Linked DNA regions of Homo sapiens: regions 2, 3, 4, 5, 6 and 7 are each linked to region 1. Evidence: promoter capture Hi-C in 16 types of primary human blood cells and fetal thymus (Javierre and others, 2016). All regions are on one chromosome and are shown on one strand. Each heading gives the region's core, a stretch centred on a gene start or on the middle of the fragment in contact. The rest is flanking DNA. Distances are from core to core; before and after follow the strand shown.

What was found. The method cuts DNA at HindIII sites, captures the fragments that hold promoters and counts their contacts. A CHiCAGO score of 5 or more calls a contact.
Region 2: a fragment that was not itself captured here is called in contact with the fragment with the promoter of CACYBP in region 1 in 1 of 17 cell types (monocytes); the score reaches 5.6 in monocytes.
Region 3: a fragment that was not itself captured here is called in contact with the fragment with the promoter of CACYBP in region 1 in 1 of 17 cell types (neutrophils); the score reaches 6.5 in neutrophils.
Region 4: a contact is called between a fragment that was not itself captured here and the fragment with the promoter of CACYBP in region 1, in 3 of 17 cell types (fetal thymus, total CD8 T cells and monocytes). The highest score is 9.4, in fetal thymus.
Region 5: a contact is called between a fragment that was not itself captured here and the fragment with the promoter of CACYBP in region 1, in 2 of 17 cell types (M2 macrophages and naive B cells). The highest score is 6.2, in M2 macrophages.
Region 6: a fragment that was not itself captured here is called in contact with the fragment with the promoter of CACYBP in region 1 in 15 of 17 cell types (naive B cells, total B cells, total CD8 T cells and 12 more); the score reaches 14.8 in naive B cells.
Region 7: a fragment that was not itself captured here is called in contact with the fragment with the promoter of CACYBP in region 1 in 1 of 17 cell types (M1 macrophages); the score reaches 5.4 in M1 macrophages.

The regions. Positions count from the first base shown.
Region 1 is chr1:174,998,340-175,001,691 of GRCh38, forward strand. CACYBP (calcyclin binding protein) reads left to right here and starts at 1,608. Exons shown (of 6, transcript NM_014412.3): 1 at 1,608-1,856. The coding sequence starts at 1,842. It overlaps LOC105371622 (a long non-coding RNA gene), which reads right to left and starts at 1,307. Exons shown (of 2, transcript NR_188647.1): 1 at 1,256-1,307. RefSeq lists enhancers at 729-938, 881-1,417, 969-1,478 and a silencer at 1,509-1,628. The HindIII fragment of the contact is 3,791 bases long and covers 1-2,196 here.
Region 2 is chr1:174,006,529-174,009,880 of GRCh38, forward strand. All of the region lies in intron 1 of RC3H1 (ring finger and CCCH-type domains 1), which reads right to left. Among named protein-coding and RNA genes, the nearest start is that of RC3H1, 14 kb to the right of the region's middle. The HindIII fragment of the contact is 5,748 bases long and covers 1-3,352 here.
Region 3 is chr1:174,027,973-174,031,324 of GRCh38, forward strand. No RefSeq gene overlaps it. Among named protein-coding and RNA genes, the nearest start is that of RC3H1-DT, 7.2 kb to the left of the region's middle. The HindIII fragment of the contact is 8,475 bases long and covers 1-3,352 here.
Region 4 is chr1:174,162,136-174,165,487 of GRCh38, forward strand. The region is part of intron 1 of RABGAP1L (RAB GTPase activating protein 1 like); the gene reads left to right. Among named protein-coding and RNA genes, the nearest start is that of RABGAP1L, 4.3 kb to the left of the region's middle. The HindIII fragment of the contact is 151 bases long and covers 1,607-1,757 here.
Region 5 is chr1:174,222,322-174,225,673 of GRCh38, forward strand. The region is part of intron 3 of RABGAP1L (RAB GTPase activating protein 1 like); the gene reads left to right. Among named protein-coding and RNA genes, the nearest start is that of RABGAP1L, 64 kb to the left of the region's middle. The HindIII fragment of the contact is 5,756 bases long and covers 1-3,352 here.
Region 6 is chr1:174,258,453-174,261,804 of GRCh38, forward strand. The region is part of intron 7 of RABGAP1L (RAB GTPase activating protein 1 like); the gene reads left to right. Among named protein-coding and RNA genes, the nearest start is that of RABGAP1L, 100 kb to the left of the region's middle. The HindIII fragment of the contact is 817 bases long and covers 1,259-2,075 here.
Region 7 is chr1:174,280,955-174,284,306 of GRCh38, forward strand. All of the region lies in intron 10 of RABGAP1L (RAB GTPase activating protein 1 like), which reads left to right. Among named protein-coding and RNA genes, the nearest start is that of RABGAP1L, 120 kb to the left of the region's middle. The HindIII fragment of the contact is 1,064 bases long and covers 998-2,061 here.

The DNA.
Region 1 (3,352 bases), core at 358-2,857:
ACTGCATTAGGTCCATGGGATATTTGTTTTTATTTAATTATGTACTTAATAATTCCAGGCTATTGGTTGGACACTTAAAAAAATTTATACGATAAAATACACAGCTCTTAGGAGTTCATCCCATGAACTTTGACAATTCTATGTATCGGTGTAATATTTCCATTACCTGGGCAAATTCCCCTTCGCCGGGCCTTAAGCATAATCTACAGAAAAAACTACGTACATAAATATACGTTTACAACTCAATGAGATTTCTAAAGTGAACCCACCTATCTATAATCAGTGTCCAAATCAAGAAACATTACCTGAACCTCAAAAGCCCCCTGGTGGCTCTTTCATGTCATTGTCCTCCCCACTATGCTCATTAACACCATGGGCTAGTTTTTAAATGGAACCACGCAATATGAACTCTTCCATGTCTGGCTTCTTTCCCTCAACTTCATTTTTTTGTGTGAAATTCACGCATGTTGCGTTTCGGTAATTTATTTTTGTACTGTACTTCCGATTCTTTACTACAGATAATGGTCAGCCTCCATTCCGCTAACAGCTTTTTTTCCTCTCCGAGTTGCTGATTCTAATTGCTGCCTTGGACGATCTATAAAGCTGAGTGCGCGCTATGTGACCTCTCAGGGGTCGCTGCCTTGGACGATCTGTAAAGCTGAGTGCGCGCTATGTGACCTCTCAGGGGTTGTTTCCAACCGTGTTGTTGACATCTTGAGCCTGCCAAGGACTAGAATAATCTGAAAACTAGGCTTCTCTGGGGGTCTCACTGAGTGACAGGGTTAGAACCAGAAGAGAACATCGTCTCCAGAAGACATTTCACCATTTTCTTTGATGGTAAACAGGCTCACTTATACCGAATCCAAACCCAGGCGAGAACTACGGACTCTTGAAATGGTCGGTGAAAGGGGCGAAAGCACCAGGAAATCGTGCTTCAACAGTCCATGACTGAAAGGAGGGCCTGAAACTGTGGCCATAGGCGGGCCCTTTTGTTAGGGCCTTGACCTGGGCTTCCGCTACAGGGCCCGGTCACGAGGCCAACGTAGCTCCACCTCCTACGGCGGCCAGTGATGACGCCACCACGTCGGAACTGTTAGACCGCGGTGACGTCTCCACCGCGCCAAACTCACTGAAAATCAAACCGCTACCATTAGGAGCCCTCCACGCTTAACATATCCGTTCTTTCTCGTTTGAAAGTAACCAGGCTGCTCCTCCCCATTTTTCGCCTTCTTCTCGCGGAGGCTGAGAGACTAACCTTACACAACATGGCGGCCTGGTGTGTCTGGTGTCCTAGAGCGGACGAAAGCAGGTGACTCTCTAGTCAACTTCCGACTTGGACTCCGAAGATCGGTACGTTATTTCCGGGGCTGGGTTAACGCAGCGGTTCCGAGCTGCGACTGCGCAGCGTGGCCCAGCGCGGTCAAATTATAATACATAAAAGTTGTCAGGGCGGAGAGCAAGACATTACTCTTCTCGGATTGCCGGTTCGCTCGCGAGACTTGAGCGTTGCTAGGAGATTCGGCAGGCGGGCGGAGCCAGACTCGGCGGGGCGGGGAGGGGTGGGGCTAGGCTCGGCGAGGCGAGGAAGGGTGGGTGGAGCCAGGCTTGGCGGGCTGTGCGTGCTCGCGGTGGGCGGTGGCGGCGGCTGCCTCGCGAAGGTTCGAGATCCGTCGCGTGCGGGAGGCGGGCCGCGATCTTGCGCAGGGTCGGTGTGGGCGCAGGCTGCAGCGCCGCGACTCGTGCGGGTAGGCGTCTGCGCTCGGTTTGAGGGCTCGGCGCGGGGTTTCCTGTTCCTCCTTCTGCGCGGCTGCAGCTCGGGACTTCGGCCTGACCCAGCCCCCATGGCTTCAGAAGAGGTAAGTGGTCCGGCCCCATATTCCTTATGCCCCCCGGCTGGAGCTGCAGCGCCAGCCTCCCGCCCTACCGCCGTTTCCGTGGGCTGAGCCGCCCTGCGGCCACCCGGTCCCGCGCCAGTCAGTGCGCCGCCTTCCCGGGGGACACCTCACTCGCCCCTTGCTGCGCCGTCGGCTCCCCAGCGCTTCCACTCGACCTCGCACCCCACTCGCCTGCTGGGCTCGAGCGGGGGTGTGCGGCGATTATCCGTGCAGGCGGTGCGGGGAGTGGGTCTGGGAGAGCGGCCCTTTGCGCGTGTTCCTCAGGCCCTTTCTGCCCTGGTTTCCCAGCCAGTGGACAGGAAGCTTCATTCAAGCAAAGCTGGGTGCAAACATGAGTGTCGTTCTTGGTAGAGGGCGGTTGGAAGGTGAGTTCTCAGTGCTAGCACTTGAATTCTCCTAGTCAGGTTTTCTCTACACACGAGGAGCTGTGTTACTCTGGGCAAGTTGTTTAGCTTCTCTGTGTCGCAGTAGCATCCATTTCATAGGGTTGTTAAAAAATATGATTTCTAGGTGTTTAAGTCAGTGATTGGCAAACAGCAATCTGCTGTATGTGATTTTTAAAATAAATAACTTGGAAAGTTAGTTGTAATTAATAGTAAGAAAGCGAATGGCCTGTGTTAAAGCTCTGTAAACTCTGAACGTTGGAGAATTAAATTTTGTGGAGACTTAGTTTGCTCAGTTAGAAAATGGGAATGATAGTACTTGTATTGCTCATTTCCTGGCGTAAGTGGGAGGTGAAGACGGGACAGTTATTCACAGTTAAGTGTTGGGTGTGTATTAACTAGATTTGCTTTATGAAAACAAGTACTGGGGAGTCCCAAGCTTTTGTTTTGTTTTGTTTTTGTTTTTTAAACTCAAAATCTTTTCTTTAAATGAAGAAAAACTATGAGGTTTGTGTGTTCCAGTATTAATCTGGGTATCTTGTGACAAGTCTTTTAAGGTAGGTCTTGGGTACTATGTGCCCCTAGGAGATAACTTCACAGTCTTGCAGGTGGATAGCTCAGTGTTAGTCCTCTTGAAAGTAGAGATCGTTCTCAGTTTAGGCACTTAGAAATATACATTTGAGGGCACTTGATTTTTGTTTTGTTTGAGATAAAATTCAAGTTTTTAACCATTTTAAAGTGTACAATTCAGGTATTTGTTTTTTGTTTAAATATATTCACAGTGTAGTGCAGCCATCACCACTGTCTAGTTTCAGGACATTTTCATCACTCCAGAAAGAAACCATGTAGTGTGTTTTAAACAATTGCTTCCCATTCCTCCCTCAGCCCCTGACAACTACTCATCTTGTACTTTCTGTGAATTTGCCTATTGTAGGCATTTCATATAAATGGAGTCACGCTGTATGTGGCCTTTTGTTTTTTGGCTCCTTCAACTTAGCACTAACATTTTCAAGTTCATCCATGGTGTAGCGTGTATCAGTACACATGCTCTTTATGGCTAAATAATATTCTATT
Region 2 (3,352 bases), core at 262-2,761, 990 kb before region 1:
AAACCTGTATTTTTTCCACTATAACACCATGCCTTCCAACTTTGAGCACTTGTAACTTTTTATTATACTTTTTAATAATCATTAGTCAGCCATAATTAAAGATATAAATTAAATGATGCCTGTTTTGGGTTTAATCTGAGCATGACTGGTTTTAAGTAGGAACTCTGGAACTGTTTAAACCTACTTGTTTATTAAAAAGAAAAAATTAGGTTGTAGCAGCAACTACTGTATTCCTTTTGAACAGAACCAAAAGGATAACTCTGTCTTGAAGATTTTATTAAAATATTTCACTGAGAAATGAGAAGGGAACTAAAATAAAATGAATCATATATCTTAAGACGCCTTACTGATATTTTAAGATGAAGTATAACATACATACAGATCAAGAGTGTTCAGTTCAACGAATTATCACAAAGTGAGCATACCTGCATACTTAAGACATACATTATCAGCATCTCAAAAGGCCCCCCCTCACTATCCCTCCCAATGATTACTCCTTTATTCTTCCCCAAATATCACTACTATCCCAACTCCTAACACAATAGGTTAGTTTTGCCCGGTTTAAAATTCTATATAACAGGCCAGGCGCAGTGGCTCACGCCTGTAATCCCAGCACTTTGGGAGGCCAAGGCAGGCAGATCACGAGGTCAGGAAATTGAGACCATCCTGGCTAACACGGGGAAACACCATCTCTACTAAAAATACAAAAAAATTAGCCGGGCGTGGTGGCGGGCGCCTGTAGTCCCAGCTACTCGGGAGGCTGAGGCAGGAGAATGGCGTGAACCCGGGAGGCGGAGCTTGCAGTGAGCCGAGATCACTCCACTGCACTCCAGCCTGGGCGACAGAGCGAGACTCCATCTCAAAAAAAAAAAAAATCTATATAACGGAATCATCAGTATGTATTCTTTTGTACTTGGCTTCTTTCATGCAATGTTTTGTTGTTGTTGTTATTTGAGTCAGGGTCTTGCTTTATCACCGAGGCTGGAGTGCAGTGGCATGATCATGGCTCACTGCAGCCTCAAACCCCTGGGTTCAAACGACCCTCCCACCTCAGCCTCCTGAGGAGCTGGGACTATGAGCATGGGCCACCATGCCGGGCAACTTTTTACAATTTTTGTAGACATGGGCTATATTGCCCAGGCTGGTCTTAAACTCCTGACCTCAAGTGATCCTCCTACCTCAGCCTCCCAGATCAGTAGGATGTCAGGTGTGAGCCACCGCGTCCGGCCCACACAACATTATTTTTGTTAGATTTTTTTTCCCAGCATTTACTACATTTTAAACTGTTACAAAGCACTCCAGTTAAAATGATCACAGTTAGGAAGCTACCCTTTGTGAACTTATTTTTGGAGCAATGATGACTTGTAGATTTTGAATGCAGCAGATTTCTCATGTTGAACTGGAAGGAACAAAAATGAGTGTCAATAAAAAAAGTAGACAAAAATCTCCTCTTTACTCAAGAAAACAGTGTATGCATCACACAGCATATGTGTCACACACTAATAGTCTCCTATTACTTGCTTCTATTTCTTTTTCCCTATGATCCTGTGCTTTAGACTTCCTTGTGGCATTTGGTGGCTGCCATCATGTTCTGACTAATTCTAGAAACATGTAGATGTATTCACAACAGGTACATATCTAATTATATATTCTGACCTAGAAATTTTATTTGCATTAAAAACCTAGTATATTTAATAATAGCAATAACATCAATATTTTTAAAATGTATTTCCCCATAATCTCTTAGGTCTTAAGGACATTTCATTACTTTGTTTTGTTTTGAAATATGCCTCCTAGAATTCAAACTATTTCCAGAAAACAATGTCACAGAGACTTTTAATTGCAGATACTTGAAAAACAGTGCTTAGAAAAGAAGAAAGAAGGAAGCAGAAGCAGCAGCAGAGGAAGAAGCAGAAGAGGGGAAGGGAGGAGGAGGGAGAAGGAGGAAGAGGAGGAGCTGATTCATTTTCCATTTTAGAATTATTTCTCAACTACTATTGCAAGCAAAATTCCATTTTGAAGGGTTTAAAAGAACGAAAAAATTGCTACATGAACTCCAAACACAGAATCCTATAGCCACAATGTATCTTGTTTATACTGTATTATTATTTTATCTTTATATAAAGCGGTTTGAAACAGAAATTAAATTGTAAAAGGGGATGTTCTGGCCAGGTGTGGTGACTCACACCTGTAATCCCAGCACTCTGGGAGGCCAAGGCCAGCAGATCACCTGAGGTCAGGAGTTTGAGACCAGCCTGACCAACATGGCGAAACGCCATCTCTACTAAATACACAAAAATTAGCCAGGCGTGGTGGCGGGCACCGGTAATCCCAGCTACTTGGGAGGCTGAGGCAGGAGAATCACTCAAACCCAGGAGGCGGAGGTTGCAGTGAGCCAAGATCGTACCACTGCACTCCAGCCTAGGCAACAGAGTGAGACTTTGTCTGAAAAAAAAAAAAAAAAAAAAAAGAGATGTTTTGCTGATTCCCAAGTAGCTGCTAATGTTAGAGAACCTACTGACTGGCTGCTGCTGTATCAGAATCAAATATGACACTTCCTCCAAAATATGTAATGATGATCTTTCAGGGATTAAATTCACGCTTAGGTTTGTATAGTGTGCATGTTATAGGGAAGAGGAAATGAAAGGTTGAGATAAGTCTAACCACTGTGGATTGCACAATAAACAGATAAGTCTATTTATTGCTTGGTAAAAACAGGGACCCTGGTTAAGAACATAGTTTGTCCTACTCTTCCTCCAACCCTGAACCTTCTCCCCACTTCTGTATAGGCATTAATATATGAATTCCTTCAGAGAAGGCCTTCCCTGATCACCTTATTTCAAATAGATGCCCCAATCTCAATCCCTCCCCAGCCCTCTGCTATCCAACCACATGTTAAACTGCATGCTTCCCATCTCTTTCCTGATTAATTTTTCTCAATAATACTTCTCATCCAACATCTGTGTTTCATATTTATTTTGTTACAGTGTATACCCATCGATACTGAAATATTAGCTCCTTAAAAGTGGGCCAGGCATGGTGGCTCATGTCTGTAATCCCGGCATTTTGGGAGGCCAAGGTGGGCAGATCACTTGAGGTTAGGAGTTCAAGACCAGCCCGGCCAACATGGTGAACCCGTCACTACCAAAAACACAAAAAATTAGCTGGGTATGGTGGCACGCGTCTGTAGTCTCAGCTACTTGGAAGGCTGAGGCACGAGAATCACTTGAACCCGGGAGGCAGAGGTTGCAGTGAGCCGAGATCGTGCCACTGCACTATAGCCTGGGCCACAGAGCAAGACTCAGTCTCAAAAACAAACAGATTTTTGTTTCTATCTTTAACTATTTTTGAG
Region 3 (3,352 bases), core at 356-2,855, 970 kb before region 1:
GGGATGAAGAAGGATAAGGAAGGAGAAATTGAAAGGTATGAGAGTAGAGTCTGGATTAACTAAAAAACCTGGTTTAAAGTACAGCTGGGACCTGAGACCTCTCCAGTCTAAATAGTTTATGTAAGGGGAGGGAATGACATCCTCAAACACACACACACAAAATAGCGGGTACTGGAGCTGAGCCACTTGGGTTTTCTGAACTGCTTTAGGTAAAGTAAGAGTGGGAAGTTAATTGTCTTCTCCATCCTTACTATCATCTCTTATTCTTATACAAAGATTCTCCATGACCTCCTACTTCCTCCCCAGTCCACAATATTGTACCCCTCCTATTAAAATTTCATTAAAAATAAAACTCTAAAAAATAAGAAGCAGAGGAAGATGTCCCATGCAATACACTATAGAAATATGAGGAAACCGATGGTGTCTGACCTACCCTACACCTTTGGAGTCAAGTCCAAAATCAGACCCAAATCATCATCTGCAAATTAAGCCTAACGGATTGCTGTAGATTCAGGGTGTTAATCACATGGCAAATATAGCCCAATTTAGTTCTGAGATTTCAAGAGCTAGGTTCCTGCAGACTTGAGATTCCAAAAGAGTTAAGTAAAATGATGTTTCTGAGTCTTACATGAAATTGCTTCTAAATTGGCCTGCCTTCCATAAAGGCCTCCAGCCCAACATTGAGCTGTCTGAACTTCAGCTGACCCTTAGAGACTTATCTGAAGCCAATGATAAACAGAATGCCTTTACAAAAGAGATATCAAACAACTTTCAGCAAAGTGGTCCACTCTAGGCAGTTAGGTTAAGAGAAAGTAGCTCCACTTTTCCAGTGGCAAAACTCACTGGAATATTGTTGTTTTCACTATTAGTTTGCTAGGGCTATCACACCAAATGCCACAGTCTGGGTGGCTTTTTGTTTTTTAAACGTAATCCCACATGGCAGCATGTTATTATTGGTGTAAAATGGATAAGTATAAGATTTTTGTTTTGTTTTTGAGATGGAATCTCGCTCTGTTGCCCAGGCTGGAGTGCAGCTGGAGCTCACTGCAACCTCTGCCTCCCTAGTTCAAGCAATTCTCCTACCTCAGCCCCCTGAGTAGCTGGGATTATAGGCATGAACCACCACGCCTGGCCGGGATAAGTATAAGATGTTTTATGTAAGCCTCAGGGTAACCATAAAGCAAAAGCCCATAATAGGTATGCAGGCCAGGCACAGTGACTCACGCCTGTAATCCCAGCACTTTGGGAGGCTGAGGCTGGCGGATCATGAGGTCAGGAGTTCAAGACCAGCCTGGACAACATAGTGAAACTCTGTCTCTACTAAAAATACAAAAATTAGCCAGGCATGGTGGCGCACGCCCGTAGTCCCAGCTACTCGGGAGGCTGAGGCTGGAGAATCGCTTGAATCTGGGAGGTGGAGGTTGCGGTGAGCCAAGATCATGCCACTGCACTCCAGGCTGAGCAACAGAATGAGACTTAGTCTAAAAATAAACCAAAATACATATATATATATATATATATACACATATATATATGCATGCAAAGGATAAGAAAAAATTTAAATCATACCATTATAGAAAATCATCAAACCACAAAGGAAGAAAACGAGAGGGGAAGAAAGGAACAAGGAACTTCAAATCAACCAGAATAACAAAACAATAATTTTAAAAAAACCCAGTTTATTGGAAATCATCATTCTCAGTAAACTATCGCAAGAACAAAAAACCAAACACCACATATTCTCACTCATAGGTGGGAACTGAACAATGAGAACACATAGACACAGGAAGGGGAACATCACACTCTGGGGACTGTTGTGGGGTGGGGGGAGGGGGGAGGGATAGCACTGGGAGATATACCTAATGCTAGATGACGAGTTAATGGGTGCAGCGCACCAGCATGGCACATGTATACATATGTAACTAACCTGCACATTGTGCACATGTACCCTAAAACTTAAAGTATAATAAGTAAAAAAAAAAAAACATAGAAAAAAGAAAAGAAAAAAAAACCCAGCAAACAATTTTTCAAATGGCACTTATAAGTCCTTACCTATACGTAATTACTTTGAATGTAAATGGATTAAATTATCTAATCAAAAGGCATAGAGTGGCTGAAAAGATTAAAAAAAAACAACAACAACAAGACCCTTAGAGGCCAGGTGTGTAATCCCAGCACTTTGGGAGGCCAAGGCATGCAGATCACCTGAGGTCAGGAGTTCGAGACCAGCCTGGTAAACTTGGCAAAACCTTGTCTGTACTAAAAATACAAAAATTAGCCGGGCATGGTGGCAGGCGCCTGTAATCCTAGCTACTTAGGAGGCTGAGACAGGAGAATTGCTTAAACCCAGGAGGCAGAGGTTACAGTGAGCCGAGATCACACCATTGCACTCCAGCCTGGGCAACAAGAGTGAAACTCCATCTCAAAAAAAAAAAAAAAAAAAAACTTAGCTAGGCATGGTGGTGGGCACCTGTAATCCCAGCTACTCAGAAGGCTGAGGCAGGAGAATGACTTGAACCCAGGAGGCGGAGGTTGTAGTGAGCCGAGATCGTGCATTGCACTTTAGCCTGGGTGACAAGAGTGAAACTTCATCTCAAAAAAAAAAAAGACCCTTGGAGCTGGCACAGTGGCTCACCCCTGTAATCCCAGTGACTCAGCAAGCTGAGGTGGGAGGATCACTTGAGCCCAGGAGTTGGAGGCTGCAGTGAGCTATGACTGTGCTGCCATACTCCAGCCTGGGCAACAGAATGAGACCCTATCTCTAAAAACAAACAAAAAACAAGACCAAAGTATATGCTGCCTACATAAGACTCACTTCACCTTAAAGCAGGGGTCCCTAACGTCTGGTCCATGGACCAGTACAGGTCTGTACCCTGTTAGGAACCTGGACACACAGCAGGAAATGAGCAGCTAGCAAGAGAGCATCACCGCCTCAGCTCTGCCTCCTGTCAGATCAGTGGCAGCATTAGATTCTCATAGGAGCATGAACCCTACTGTGAAATGCACATGCAAGAATCTAATGCCTGATGATCTGAGGTGGAACAGTTTCATCTTGAAGCCATCCCTCACGCCTGGCCTGTCCATGGAAAAATTGTCTTCAAAGAAACTGTTCCCTGGTGCCAAAAAGTTTGGGGATCATTGCCTTAAAGGACTCTTGTAGACTGAAAGTGAAGGGAAAGATGACTGTTTGTTTATATAACTAATTATTGGAACCTCGTGTGGGGCTCTGTCTATCTAAACATACAATTCTAGATATACTGAGTTCAATATACTTTGTAACCAAATGATGTCCTCTAGCACAAATGTATATTCAATATCTATTGGGCAATATTAGGTTTATCCGATCATGAAT
Region 4 (3,352 bases), core at 432-2,931, 840 kb before region 1:
TAGATGTTTTCTTTTTACGCTGGTAGTTATGATTTTTTTTTCCTTTGAATGAAAGAATTTTATTAGGCATGTGAAACAGGAGTTTTCATGTGATCAGCTCTCCAGTTCTAAATTTGTGACTTTTAAAAAACTTGAATTTTTTTCTTTGCCTTAACCCAAACTTGAATTTGCTCAGCCATTGTATATTTATTTGAACTCTCAGATGATACAGCATTGAAGCAGAAAGTCCTTTTATCCATGCTTTTGGAGTAATCAAAAGAAGGAATTCTGTTGTGCCAAGTAAAAATATGTGTGGGAGATAGCTAGGCTTCAAGAGATTGACTTTGAAGAGAGTAGTGGCTAAGTAGCAAAAATTTCCTATATTGAAGGTGTAGAAGTGGGCCTGCATTCCAACCTACCATTGTCTTCAAGTGGGGTATGGATCATTATGACTGGTTAGAGGGGGTTTGGAGAATGAAGTTGTTGCTGTAAGCCTATGGGATTCCCAGGCACAGAGCTTGCTTATGTCTTAATTTTAATGAGTTCTATATTTTTATAACTCTTGACTTATATAAATGGGTCAGCCGTTGAGTCTGAGGATGACCAGCAGCCCAAGGCTATTCCAGGTGCTGGTATTTCTTTTTTTTTTTTTTTCTCTTTCTGTTTTTTTTTTTTTTTTTTTTTTTTTTAATTATACTTTAAGTTTTAGGGTACATGTGCACATTGTGCAGGTTAGTTACATATGTATACATGTGCCATGCTGGGAATTGAACAATGAGATCACATGGACACAGGAAGGGGAATATCACACTCTGGGGACTGTGGTGGGGAGGGGGGAGGGGGGAGGGATAGCATTGGGAGATATACCTAATGCTAGATGATGAGTTAGTGGGTGCAGCGCACCAGGTGCTGGTATTTCAAAGATGGCTCAGGGGTTTCTTGTGGAGATGATCTGATGAGCATTTTGCCATTACAAACAGTGGAGGCGGAGAAAGTACGGACTTGAGCCTGAGTTATGGTAAAACATACTCATTTTTAAAGGAGAGTTTTAATGCTGATATTATAGAGAAAGACATTGTTTGACTCCTAGACTTTCAGAACGGGAAATAATTTTGACTTTATAGTCAGTATTTGAATTGGGTATAAGTATGTGAACATCAGTGGACCCTAATAAGGAAGAGTTAATGAATTAAGAAGAGCTTGCATCTCTGAACATCTTCTTTTTATACTTCGTTTACTTCCCATATTGCTCTTATTCAACAGATGGGATGGCATAATTGGGTATACGAAGTTTATGCGCATGCTAACTCTTTTTTGTTATCTTTTGGTGTTTTTTGGTGTACTTTTTGGGGATTTTCCTGGGAAAGTTCTAGGCATATATTCAGTTGATTTAGAGTTAGATTTGGGCTAAGATTATTAGTATACTTGAAATTCTGAGCCTTCTTATTTTCTAAATAGCTTTTAAAGTAGAAAACATTTGCCAGTGCTGTTGGGCTTAAAAAAAAAAAAAACCCAACAACAACACAATTCTTTATAAATACTCATGAAAAATCTGGTTACAGGCTGTGTTGTGATAGACATAGTACAGCCAAAAATATATTTAAGAAAATTCTCACCCAGTTTAGTAAGCTTAAATAAGAGGAAAATAAGACAGTTTTTTTTTTTAATAAAAGGCTGATTTTCCCAGAATATGAAGCCTAACAACTGTTTGCTGTGTTATTTTCCCTGTTGCCTGTTCTAAATTCAGCAAGAACTATGCATCCCTAGTCCATGGTAAAAGCTTAGTTCCAGTAGGTGATTCTTAGTAATGGAAGTCTCATTGAGGGATGCAAGGGAATTTGATTGGGAAACATCAGGCATGGAACATTTACTTTTTACTGCTCTAATTTTCTGTGTATCTGGGTATTCAGTGGGGTGGGAACATGAGCACAAATACTAGAATTATCTGGATTTTTTTTTTATACTATGGATTTCCTCCTCTTACCCCCTACCTGCCCCCCAACCCATTGCTAAGTGAGCCATTGATAGTAGGAGTGTGTTATATCCTTCAGGTATGTAGGGCTGAACAAATGCTAAAAACCTTGGCACTTGGCTGATATTCCATAAACCAAATTCCTGCTCTGTGTAATTTGCCTTCTGGTGATATCAGTTTGTTACTCCCATTTTTGAAGAAAAATATGAATTGTGGTGAAGAGACATCTGTAACCAAGAGTAAGATTTATCAAATTATGTAGTATACATGAAGGACACCAGGAGATTGTTTACCTGAACATTTATTAAACTCATTTGACTGTGACCCACAATAAAAAATACATTTTACTACTTGATTCCGCAAGCGCACACACACACAAAGTTGAAAGTTTGGTGAAATAATATTTATCTTTTCAGGGCCCTACTGAGTTAGCTATAATGGCTTGCAAGACCAGTTGTGCATATTTCTTCCTATCTAGCTCTTTGTCCAGTGACATCATGTTGGTAGCTCAAAATTGGTCATGGTGGGAATATTTACACCAGGAAATTCAGCAAATGGTATTCTTAGGGCTTCCCTCCTCATAGGTAGTTGTTAAACATTTATAGCACCCCACTGCTTATAACACACATTGATATATTCTGTTATTTCATTTCATTTTAAAAATGCTGGGTTTTGACTTCCAAATTAATTTTACACCCAGCTAATGGATTATAGCCTACATTTAACAACAAATACAACTAGTTTAGCCTACCCTCTTAACTTTGTAAGTGAAGGAACATACTAAGAGCCTCAAGGCCAAGGTCAGATAGTGAGTTATTAGCAAAGCCAGGGCTCTGGACTCAATCTGGAGTTGTTTCTGGTGGGCTTCTTTCCTAACCTCACTTAGTGTGTATAAGGGATTGTGTTAATCAGTTTGAATAAAGATGGACCTTGACCCTGAGGACTTTATGCTTAGGTGGGGGATTAAATATGGAAACAACAGTGATAATGAAAGGCAGAAAGTAATGGGTGGTAAAAAGATAAAGATAAGGAACTATAAGAGTTTAGAGAGGAGGGAGAGATTACTTTTATTTTTGTTTGTTTGTTTGTTTTTCGTTTTTGACCCAGGCTGGAGTACAGTGGTACAATCTCGGCTCACTGCAACCTCTGCCTCCCAGGTTCAAGTGATTCTCCTGCGTCAGCCTCCCTGAGTAGCTGGGATTACAGGCGCCAACTGCCACACCAGGCTAATTTTTGTATTTTTAGTACAGACGGGGTTTCGCCATGTTGGCCCGGCTGGTTTTGAACTTCTGACCTCAGGTGATCCATCCGCCTCAGCCTCCCAAAGTGCTGGGATTACAGGCGTGAGCCACCGTGCCCGGTCTACTTTTAGTTTTAAGGATAAAAGAAGAGGTGACATTT
Region 5 (3,352 bases), core at 569-3,068, 780 kb before region 1:
TTCTGAACCAAATGAACCTTGGTACAGGGTAAGTATAGGTATAGCCAAACTGTTACACAATAGGGCTGTGATGCATTTATGTAGGGAATGTAATCACAGTGCCTTCCATGGCAAGGATGATTAAGCATTAGAAAAATCTTTCAGTGTGGTTTACCACATAAAGTGGTGAAGAGTGAAAAAGTATCAGTAGATAAAGAACAAGCACTGGATAAAATTTAAAATTTTACATGTATATGCACATGTAAAGTTCTTGGAAAACTTAGAAGGAAACTTGCTTAATCAAATATCTATCAAAGTCTTATGTTTTATGCTGAAATTTAAAATGCGTTACCATCAAGATATATTGAAACAGGAGCAGTTAGGGCATGATAGCTATCACCATAGCTCTTTGACGTTGTACTAAAGAATCCAGCCAATGCAAGATGACAGGAAAAAGAAATGAAGTGTGATTAGAAAAAAAGTGAAAAAATTCTCATGATTGGTAAAGTATTTAAGAAAGTGAATGGATAAGCTATTAGATTTAAAGACTTTTTGCCAGGCATGGTGGCTCATGCCTGTAATCCCAGCAATTTGGGAGGGTGAGGCGGGCAGATCACTTGAAGTCAGGAGTTTGAGACCAGCCTGGCCAACATGGCAAAACCCCGTCTCTATTAAAAATACAAAAATGGCTGGGCGGGGTGGCTCAAGCCTGTAATCCCACCACTTTGGGAGGCCAAGATGGGCAGGTCACGAGATCAGGAGTTCCAGACCAGCCTGGCTAATATAGTGAAACCCCGTCTCTACTAAAAATACAAAAATTAACTGGGTGTGGCAGCACATGCCTGTAGTCCCAGCTACTCAGGAGGCTGAGGCGAGAGAATCGCTTGAACCTGGGAGGCAGAGGTTGCAGTGAGCCAAGACTGCACCATTGCACTCCAGCCTGCGTGACAGTGAGACTCTGTCTAAAAAAAAAAAAAAAAAAAAAAAAAAAAATTAGCTGGGCAGGGTGGTGAACACTTGAAATTCCAGCTGCTCAGGAGGCTGAGACAGAAAAGTCACTTGAACCCAGGAGGTGGAGGTTGCAATGAACTGAGATCATGCCACTGCACTCCAACCTGGGCAACAGAGTGAGACTCCATCTCAAAAAAAAAAAAAAAAAAAAGATTTAACGACTTTTAGGAAGGTTAGCACCAACAGTAGAAAATAAAATTGCCATTCATAATACCAACAAAAATAATAGGTAACAAGGAAGAAACAAAAATTTATGTAAAATTTTAATAAAATTATAAAATGTTATTGAAGGAAATGAACACCTGAATGAATGGGGAGAGATGCCATGTTGATTGATAGGAGTCAACCTTGAAAAGATGTAACTTATCTCCAAATTAGTCTGTAACTTGGGTGGGAATTTCAAATTTTCAGTTATTTTTATAAACATTCTGAAATGTATCTGGACAAGTAGAGGTACACAGGTAGCTAAGAAAATTTTTAAAAAGAATATTATGTATTAAGATAGACTACAGAGTTACAGTGATTAAACCAATGTGATATTGGCTTGTTATAGAAGTGAATCACTAGAACAGGGTACCAGAAACAAACCTATGTATATAAAGGATTTCAGTATATGACAGAATTCGCTTCACATACCACTGGGGGAAATGGTAACTATGCAGTAAATAGTGTTGGGACAGTTGCATCTTTGAGTGCAATAAAATAAAATTAGGTTCCTTAGTTGTACATAAAAATTATTTTTAGTGAATCAGATATTTAAAGTGAGAAATAAGCCTGTAAGAAGAAAACAATGGAGCATATTTTTGTGATTGTCAAGGTAGGAAAAGCCAAATCACAAAAGGAAAAGATAGTTGCATATCATTATAGAAAAATTTAAGTCTGGCCTGGGCATGGTGGCTCACACCTGTAATCCCAGCACTTTGGGAGGCCAAGGTGGGTGGATTACTTGAGGTCAGGAGTTCAAGACCAGCCTGGCCAACATGGTGACACCCGGTGTCTACTAAAATACAAAAATTAGCCGGGCATGGTGGTTCATGCCTGTAATCCCAGCTGAGAATCTGGGCAGGAGAATGGCTTGAACCCAGGAGGCGGAGGTTGCAGTGAGCCAAGATTACACCACTGCACTCCAGCCTAGGCAGCAGAGTGAGACTCCATCTCAAAAAAAAATTTTAAATCTGAGTGCAAAAGACCATTTAGGTTATCTATTTCTTCTTGAGTGTACTTTGGTGTTTTCATCTTTCAAGTAATTGGTTAATTTCACCTAAGTATGGGGATAGAGTTGTTTCTCTGTTATAGAGTAATATTCTCTTATTATCCTTTTAATGTCTGCAGGATGTGTATTAATATCCTCTCATTCCTGATATTGACATGTATTACATATACATACATTGAAAAACCTACCAGTCTAATAATTTTGCTTTCAACAGCCATACGTATATTTCCTTGAGCACTTTAAAAATGCTTTTCCAGTGTCTTCTTGTCTCCATTGTTTCTGATAACAAATCTGAAGGGATTTGAATCATTGTTCTCCTATTTGTAATATGTTATTTTTCTTTGCTTTCAGTACTTTTATTTCATTGTTTTCAGCAGTTTGATTATCTGTGTGTGGTTTTCTTTGAGTTTATCTTTTTTTTTTGGATCACTGAGATTCTTGAATCTGTAAATTTATATCTTTAACCAAATTTGGGAGTTTTCACCCATTATTTCTTGGTAATTGTTTTGTTTCTACACTAATCTCTTTCTTTTCTGGGACTCAGTAGACAAAAATGGTAGACATTTCCATACCGTTCTCACAATTCCTTAGGCTCTTTTCATTGTTTTCCCTGTGTTCAAGCTCACTGACTTTTTACTTTGTTAATCTCCATTCTGCTATTGAGATCGTCTGATGAATTTTTAATTTTAGATATTGTATTTTTCTGTTTTTAAATTTACATTGTTTTTTAAAGTTTTTTTGTTTCTCTGTGGATAGTTTTGATATTTTTATTCATTACAGGTGTTTTCACGTTTATTTTATGGATTATTTATGGAGCAACTGGGACATCTTGGGATTGGTCTGTGGATTATTTTTTCACTTGAGAATAGATCACCCTTTTATGTTTGTTGAGTAATTGGCTTGTTCCCAGAGTTTTCGAATCTTATGTTTTGAGACTATTTCTTGTTAAAATCCTCTGAAGAATGTTGACTTTTTTTTTTTTTTTTTTTTTAAAGCAGACATTCCACCTGGTTGTGTCCAAACTGCAAGATCTGTCTTGCTTTCTGGTTCCAAAGTATTTTCAATTCTCAAAACCTTTGCTGTGCTTCTTCAGTCTGTTCCACATGCATACACAGTTTGCTAGTTTACACGCAGAGTTAGGGGATTATC
Region 6 (3,352 bases), core at 417-2,916, 740 kb before region 1:
TAAACATCTTTTTTTTGGAGAGATGGGGGTCTCCCTATGCTGCCCAGGCTGGTCTTGAACTCCTGAGTTCAAGTGATCTTGACTTGGCTTCCTAAAGTGCTTGGCTTCCCAAAGTGCTGGGATTATAGGCGTGAGCCACTGTGCCTGACCCAAATCTTTAATAACTGCTGCTGACAAAGTTAATTTGTAATATAAAAGCATTGGTGTGAAAGAAAATCCTTCAAATTACATAATTTTTATCTTCTGAACGAGAAAATAAAATTTATCATTAAAAAATTTTTAAAATCATTATTTAAATTATGTAAAATTATCAACATTCTGGGTTTTTTTTTGTTTGTTTTTGGTGACAGGACCTCGCTGTGTTGCCCAGACTGGAGTGCAGTGATGTGATCATAGCTCACTGCAGCCTTGAACTCCTGGGGTCAGGCTATCCTCCTGCCTCAGCCTCCCAAGTAGCTGGGACTACAGGTGTCCACCACTACTCTGGGCTAATTTTATGTTGTCTTATTTATCTTTCATAGAGACGGGGTCTCGCTTAGTTGTCTGGGCTGGTCCCAAACTCCTGGCTTCAAGTGATCTTCTTGCCTCAGCCTCCCAAAGTGCTGGGATTACAAGTGTGAGCCACCATGCCTGGCCAATATTCTGTTTTTTTTTTTGAAAAATATATTATGAAAGAAGCCATTTCTGTGTGCATCCAAGGGTTTAAGGGTTGTTTATATCTAGATATTTTGCAAATTATACTGCAGTTGTCTGTCTTGACCCTTTTGATAACAAGCACTATGTTGTTTATCCCAGAATCCCCAGCATCTACTATAGTGCTTGGAATACAGAGCTTTATACTTAGCTACTTACTCCTTACTTAGCACTTTCTCAGTGCCAGGCACTGTTCTAGGTGGTATTTCTGAGGTATAGGTACTATTATCTTCATTTTTCAGTTGAGGAAACTGAGGTACAAAAGTTACATAACTTGACCAAGGCTATAAAATTACTTTTTAACTAAGTACATCTAGTACTAGAACACATATTCTTACTCTCTACTGCTTCTTTTTAAATACTTGACTAAATCAATAAAAAGTATATAAAAGTTTATAAAGTTAGAGCATTGGCTAAATTTGTTGTAATATGGAATTAATAACTGCACATTGCACCAATAAAATCCTATGTATTTTAAAGAATGTATGAAAACTGTTCTCAAGTCATGAAAACTTTTAATATTCTTTTCCTTTTCTTGATTACCCATGTTGGATATCACATATTAAGCTTTATTTAATAACTGGATATAAAAGAGCAATAATAATGGCCAACATTTAATGAACACTTACTATTTGGTGGCCATTGAACAACTTTTCTTAACATATGAGGAAGGTACTGTTATTATTACTGCATTTTTTTTTTTTTTTGAGACAGAGTCTCACTCTGTCACCCAGGCTGGAGTGCAGTGGTGTGATCTTGGCTCACTGCAACCTCTGCCTCCCGGGTTCAAGCAATTCTTCTGCCTCAGCCTCCTGAGTAGCTGGGACTATAGGCATGCGCCACTACACCCGGCTAATTTTTGTATGTTTAGTAAAGATGGGGTTTCACCATATTGGTCAGGCTGGTCTTGAACTCCTGACCTCGTGATCTGCCCGCCTCAGCCTCCCAAAGTGCTGGGATTACAGGTGTAAGCCACCACGCCTGGCCTATTACTCCATTTTATAGATGATGAAACAGAGGTTTAATCAGGTTAAGTAACTTTGGTTACTTGGCCAGAAACTGGTAGAGCCAGGATTTAAACCAGGGTCATCTGATTTCTGACTGTGTACTCTTAAAGGCTAAACCCAATTAATTCTTGATTATATACTAGGTTTAAAATTAAGCCAGTTTGAAGATAAATGAATTGGTATTCTTTGGTATCTTTTCAGCAGAATTTAAAAGTGCGAACTTAGATGTTAGGGCATTCAAGTGATTGCTCAGAAATTTCAAACCCTCAGTGCCTTGGGAGAAAAGCCAATTTGTAGAAGAGAAAGCTGACATTAACAACTAAGAGGAGAAAGCAAGATCATTGTATATGAAATGTGTGAGGAGTGGTAGGGCAAAGCTTACTTATTGAGGGTCTCCAGCTGAGATGTTAAAGTGTGTGTACATGAGGTCAGGCTCTTCTGGTGTTCCCAAAGCAGAAATGGTGATCATTTCTCTCTCTGACTAGCTGCCATTATTATGGGTTTTGGTATCACCACATACAGAAATATTGCAAAAGATTTCTTGCATACTAACACATTGATATGTATTTTTAAAGCCTTGATAGTGTTTAAAATACACTATTACTAGCACTGTTACCTAAATGCACTATTACTAGCACTATTACTTAGCACCTACTTGGATGCTTTGAATAGTTTGCTATGCTCAATATTCCAAAGGTGAGAGAAGGGGAAATTTTTTCAGTCTTTGCCATTAGTGCTCTGTCTAGTTGATTTTTTTTTTTGCCAAGTATTACTTCTTATTTCATGATAAAATGATTCAAGACAAATAATACCATATACATTTAGAAAATGGGCCTCTTTATTATTCCTTAACATGAAGAGGTTCCAATAATGGTAGTTTCAGGCCTTGGGGAAGGGTAATCAGGAAGCGATTTTTGGCACCAGGTTTTATGTCTGTCCTATCACTCTTCTCAGGGGTCTGCCCTCATATTAATACTTGTGCTAACCAGAATGAAGTAGTGATACAGCAAGCAGAATATAATGATTAGAGTTGTTATAAGCACACAACTCAATTTGCAGTGAGTAACATGGGCCAACACTGTTGGAAAATAAGGATTTCCATGAGCCACTTCTATCTCACATTGATTTGGGGGGATACAATCATTATATATACATTAGAAAAACATCACTTCTAAATGACAGTGATCATATCAGATCATGTAGTTTGATCATTTGGAGAGTTCAGTGATGTGCCTCTTTTGGTAGCAATTTTGCTTCAGTTTTCAATTTGTGCTTGCCGGCTTGCAGCACAAACTATATAATGAGAAACTGAAGTGATAAGAACCATACTGTGTAGCATGGGTGATTGATAGTACCTTTCCTTGTGTTATTTTCTTGAGGAAAAGATATCCTAGACAAGGAGTACTGAAAAAATCACCCAGGGACTCTCTTCTTCTCATGAAACAGTTTTTTAGTGTGAGTTGACATCACTAAATTTGATGGACAGTAGAATTTGAATTGTTTATTATTTTTTGACTGCTCTAACTTGATGTTAGACCATTCTGAGGGTCTTTTGCTGGATTTACTTAGTACTTATTTTTACTTTTGCCTTAGCAAGTTGTTACAGTTTTATTTAGGTAAAAACTCAAGTTACTATCTTGAAGTTGCCTAGA
Region 7 (3,352 bases), core at 280-2,779, 720 kb before region 1:
TCAAGAGTGAAGCCGCAGACCTTTGCAGTGAGTGTTACAGCTCTTAAAGGTGGCGTGTCTGGAGTTGTTTGATCCTCCCGGTGGGTTCGTGATCTTGCTGGCTTCAGGAGTGAAGCTGCAGACCTTCGCGGTGAGTGTTACAGCTCATAAAGGTAGTGCGGACCCAAAGAGTGAGCAACAGCAAGATTTACTGTGAAGAGCAAAAGAACAAAGCTTCCACAGAGTGGAAGAGGACCCGAGCGGGTTGCTGCTGCTGGCTTAGGTGGCCAGCTTTTATTCCCTTATTTGGCCCAGCCTGCGCCCTGCTGATTGGTCCATTTTACAGAGCACTGATTGGTCCATTTTACAGAGCGCTGATTGGTCCATTTTACAGAGTGCTGATTGGCCTGTTTTTACAGAGTGCTGTTTGGTGTGTTTACAAACCATTAGCTAGACACAGAGCACTGACTGGTGCGTTTTTACAGAGTGCTGATTGGTGTGTTTACAAACCTTTAGCTAGACAGAGTGCTGATTGGTGCGTTTACGCTCCTTTAGCTGGACAGAAAAGTTCTCCAAGTCCCACCCGACCCAGAAGCCCAGCCGGATTCGCCTCTCACCTTGACCTGAGTCTAAGGGGAGTAGACATTAATTAGGTGTAAGTGGGAAACACCAAGTATAAATGCCCAGAGAACTAGAAAGACTGGGAAGCACAGTAGCTGATGATGAAAGGCAAGTAGGCCCCTGGCCATGTGAAACTTTGGAGTCCACGTTCAGAGTTCTTTTCTAAATCAACTTTATTGAGGTAGTTAGCATACAGTAATATGCACCCATTTAATAGTACATTTTGATGAGTTTTGACAAATTTATACACATGAATAATTACCACCAAAATTAAGATCCCTCACTCTTAAAAGTTCTATAGTGTCCATGCCAGCTAATCTTTCTCACCTTCAGCCTCAGGCAATGACTGATGTGCTGTCATTACAGTAACTGGAATCATATGCTTCTTTTATGTAAAAGCTTTCTTCATGTAACAATGCCTTTGAGATCCATCCATGTTGTATGTCAGTTGTTAATCTTTTTATTGTTGAATGTTATTCCTTTGTATAGCTGTACCATAATTTATTAGATCATATGTTGGCAATTTGAGTTGTTTCCATTTTTGGTTCATGTGGTTAATTAAAGCTGCTGTATCTTTCTGTGGACATAGATTTTCATTTCTTTTGGGTTGATACCAAGAAATGGAATTGCTGTGTGGTATGGTAAGTAGAAACTGCCAAACTGTTTTCTACAGTGCTTGACCACTTTATTTTCCCTCCAGCAGTATATGTGTGTCCCAATTTCTCCTCATCCTTGCCAGCACTTAGTATCGTCAGTCTTTTAAATTGTAGCTATTCTTAGGGGTGTGTAGATGTATCTCATTGCAATGTCAATTTACATTTCACATTGAGTAATGATTTTGAGCATTTTTTTCTTATGGTTATTAATCATTCATATATCTTCTTTATAAAATGTCTAAAATTTTTGTCCACTTTTTGTTTGTCTTACTGAGTTGCAAGAGTTGTTTATATTTTCTGAATATATTTTCTTTTGTCAGATACACATATTTCAAATAGTTTCTTCCTGACAGTGGCTTGCCTTTTTATTTTCATAATGTCTCTTGAAGAACTGAAGTTTTACATTTCGATGAAGTCATATTAATATTTTATTTTATTGTTTTTGCTTTTTTTGTGTCCTATCTAAGGAAATTTTGCCTACCTCAAGGTTGTGAAGATGTTCTTTATGTTTTCCTGTAAAGACTTTATAGTTTCAGGCCTATTACCTATTTTCTGTTAATTTGTATGTATGGCATGAAGGCTTGAGGTCATCTTCCCACACCTCTCTCATGTGGGTATACAGTTGTTCCAGCATCATTTGTTGAAAAGACTCTTTTATCTATAGAATTAGTTTGTCTAAAATTAATTGACTGTAGATGTATAAGTCTGTTTCTGGGACACTATTTCTCTTCCATTGAACTCTATGTGAGTACCACACAGTCTTGCTCATTATAACTTTATATTATGTATTAAAGTCTGTGTTGTAAGCTTCCCAACCTTTCTCATTCTTAGTTTTATTTGTTGCGAGTTCTTTGCATTTCCATCTGAATTTTAGGATTAGTTTGTCAGTTTGTAGAAAAATGCATGCCCAGGCTGGACGCAGTGGCTCACACTGGTAGTCCCAGTACTTTGGGAGGTTGAGGCAGGAGGATCACTTGAGGCCAGGAGTTTGAGACCAGCCTAGGCAACATAGCAAGACTCAGTTTGTAAAAAAAAGTAAAATAAAATTACCCAAGCGTGGTGGTGTGCACCTGTGGTCCCAGCTTCTCAGGAGGCTGAGGTGGGAGGATTGCTTGAGCCCAGGAGGTTGAGGCTTCAGTGAGCCGTGATCATGCCACTTGCACTCCAGCCTGGGCCACAGAGTGACACCCCATCTCTAAAAAATAATAATAAAAAAAAGAAAAATGCATTCCCAGATTTTGACTGAGAATGCCTGAATATGTAAATGATTTTGGGAAGAGTTGCTGTTTTTTTTGTTTGTTTGTTTGTTTTTTTGAGACGGAGTCTCAACTTGTTGCCCAGGCTGGAGTGCAGTGGCACCATCCCAGCTCACTGCAACCTCTGCCTCCCAGGTTCCAGTGATTCTCCTGCCTCAGCCTCCCGAGTAGCTGGGACTACAGGTACCCACCACCACGCCTGTCTAATTTTTGTATTTTTAGTAGAGACGAGGTTTTGGCATGTTGGCCAAGCTGGTCTTGAATTCCTGACCTCAAGTGATCCACCCTCCTCGGCCTCCCAAAGTGTTGGGATTATAGGCGTGAGCCACTGCACCTGTCCTTTAGGAGTTGCTGTCTTAAGAGTGAGTCTTCAATAAACATGGCCTGTCTCATGGAGTATCACTTCATTTATTTAGCTCTTCTTTAATTTATCTCAGCAGTTATGTCACTTTTAGTATACAGGTTTTACACATACTTTAATTTATCTCTACCTAGTTCATGAATTTTTCATCTCAGGGTATAATTGAAAAAACGGAATAGACTTAAGGTGTACAATGTGATGATTTGATACATATATATTGTGAAATGATTACCGAAATCAAGTTAGTTAACACATCTGTCACCTCACGTAAGTTACCTTTTTGTGTGTGTGTAGAACACTTAAGATCTACTACTGTCTTAGCAAATTTCAAGTACACAATACAATATTGTTAACTATAGTCACCATGGAACATATTCATCTTATAACTGAAAGTTTTTACCCTTTGATCAGCATCTCACTTTTTCCCCCAAACCCCATCTCCTGGCAACCACCATTCTACTCTGTTTCTATGAGTTTAA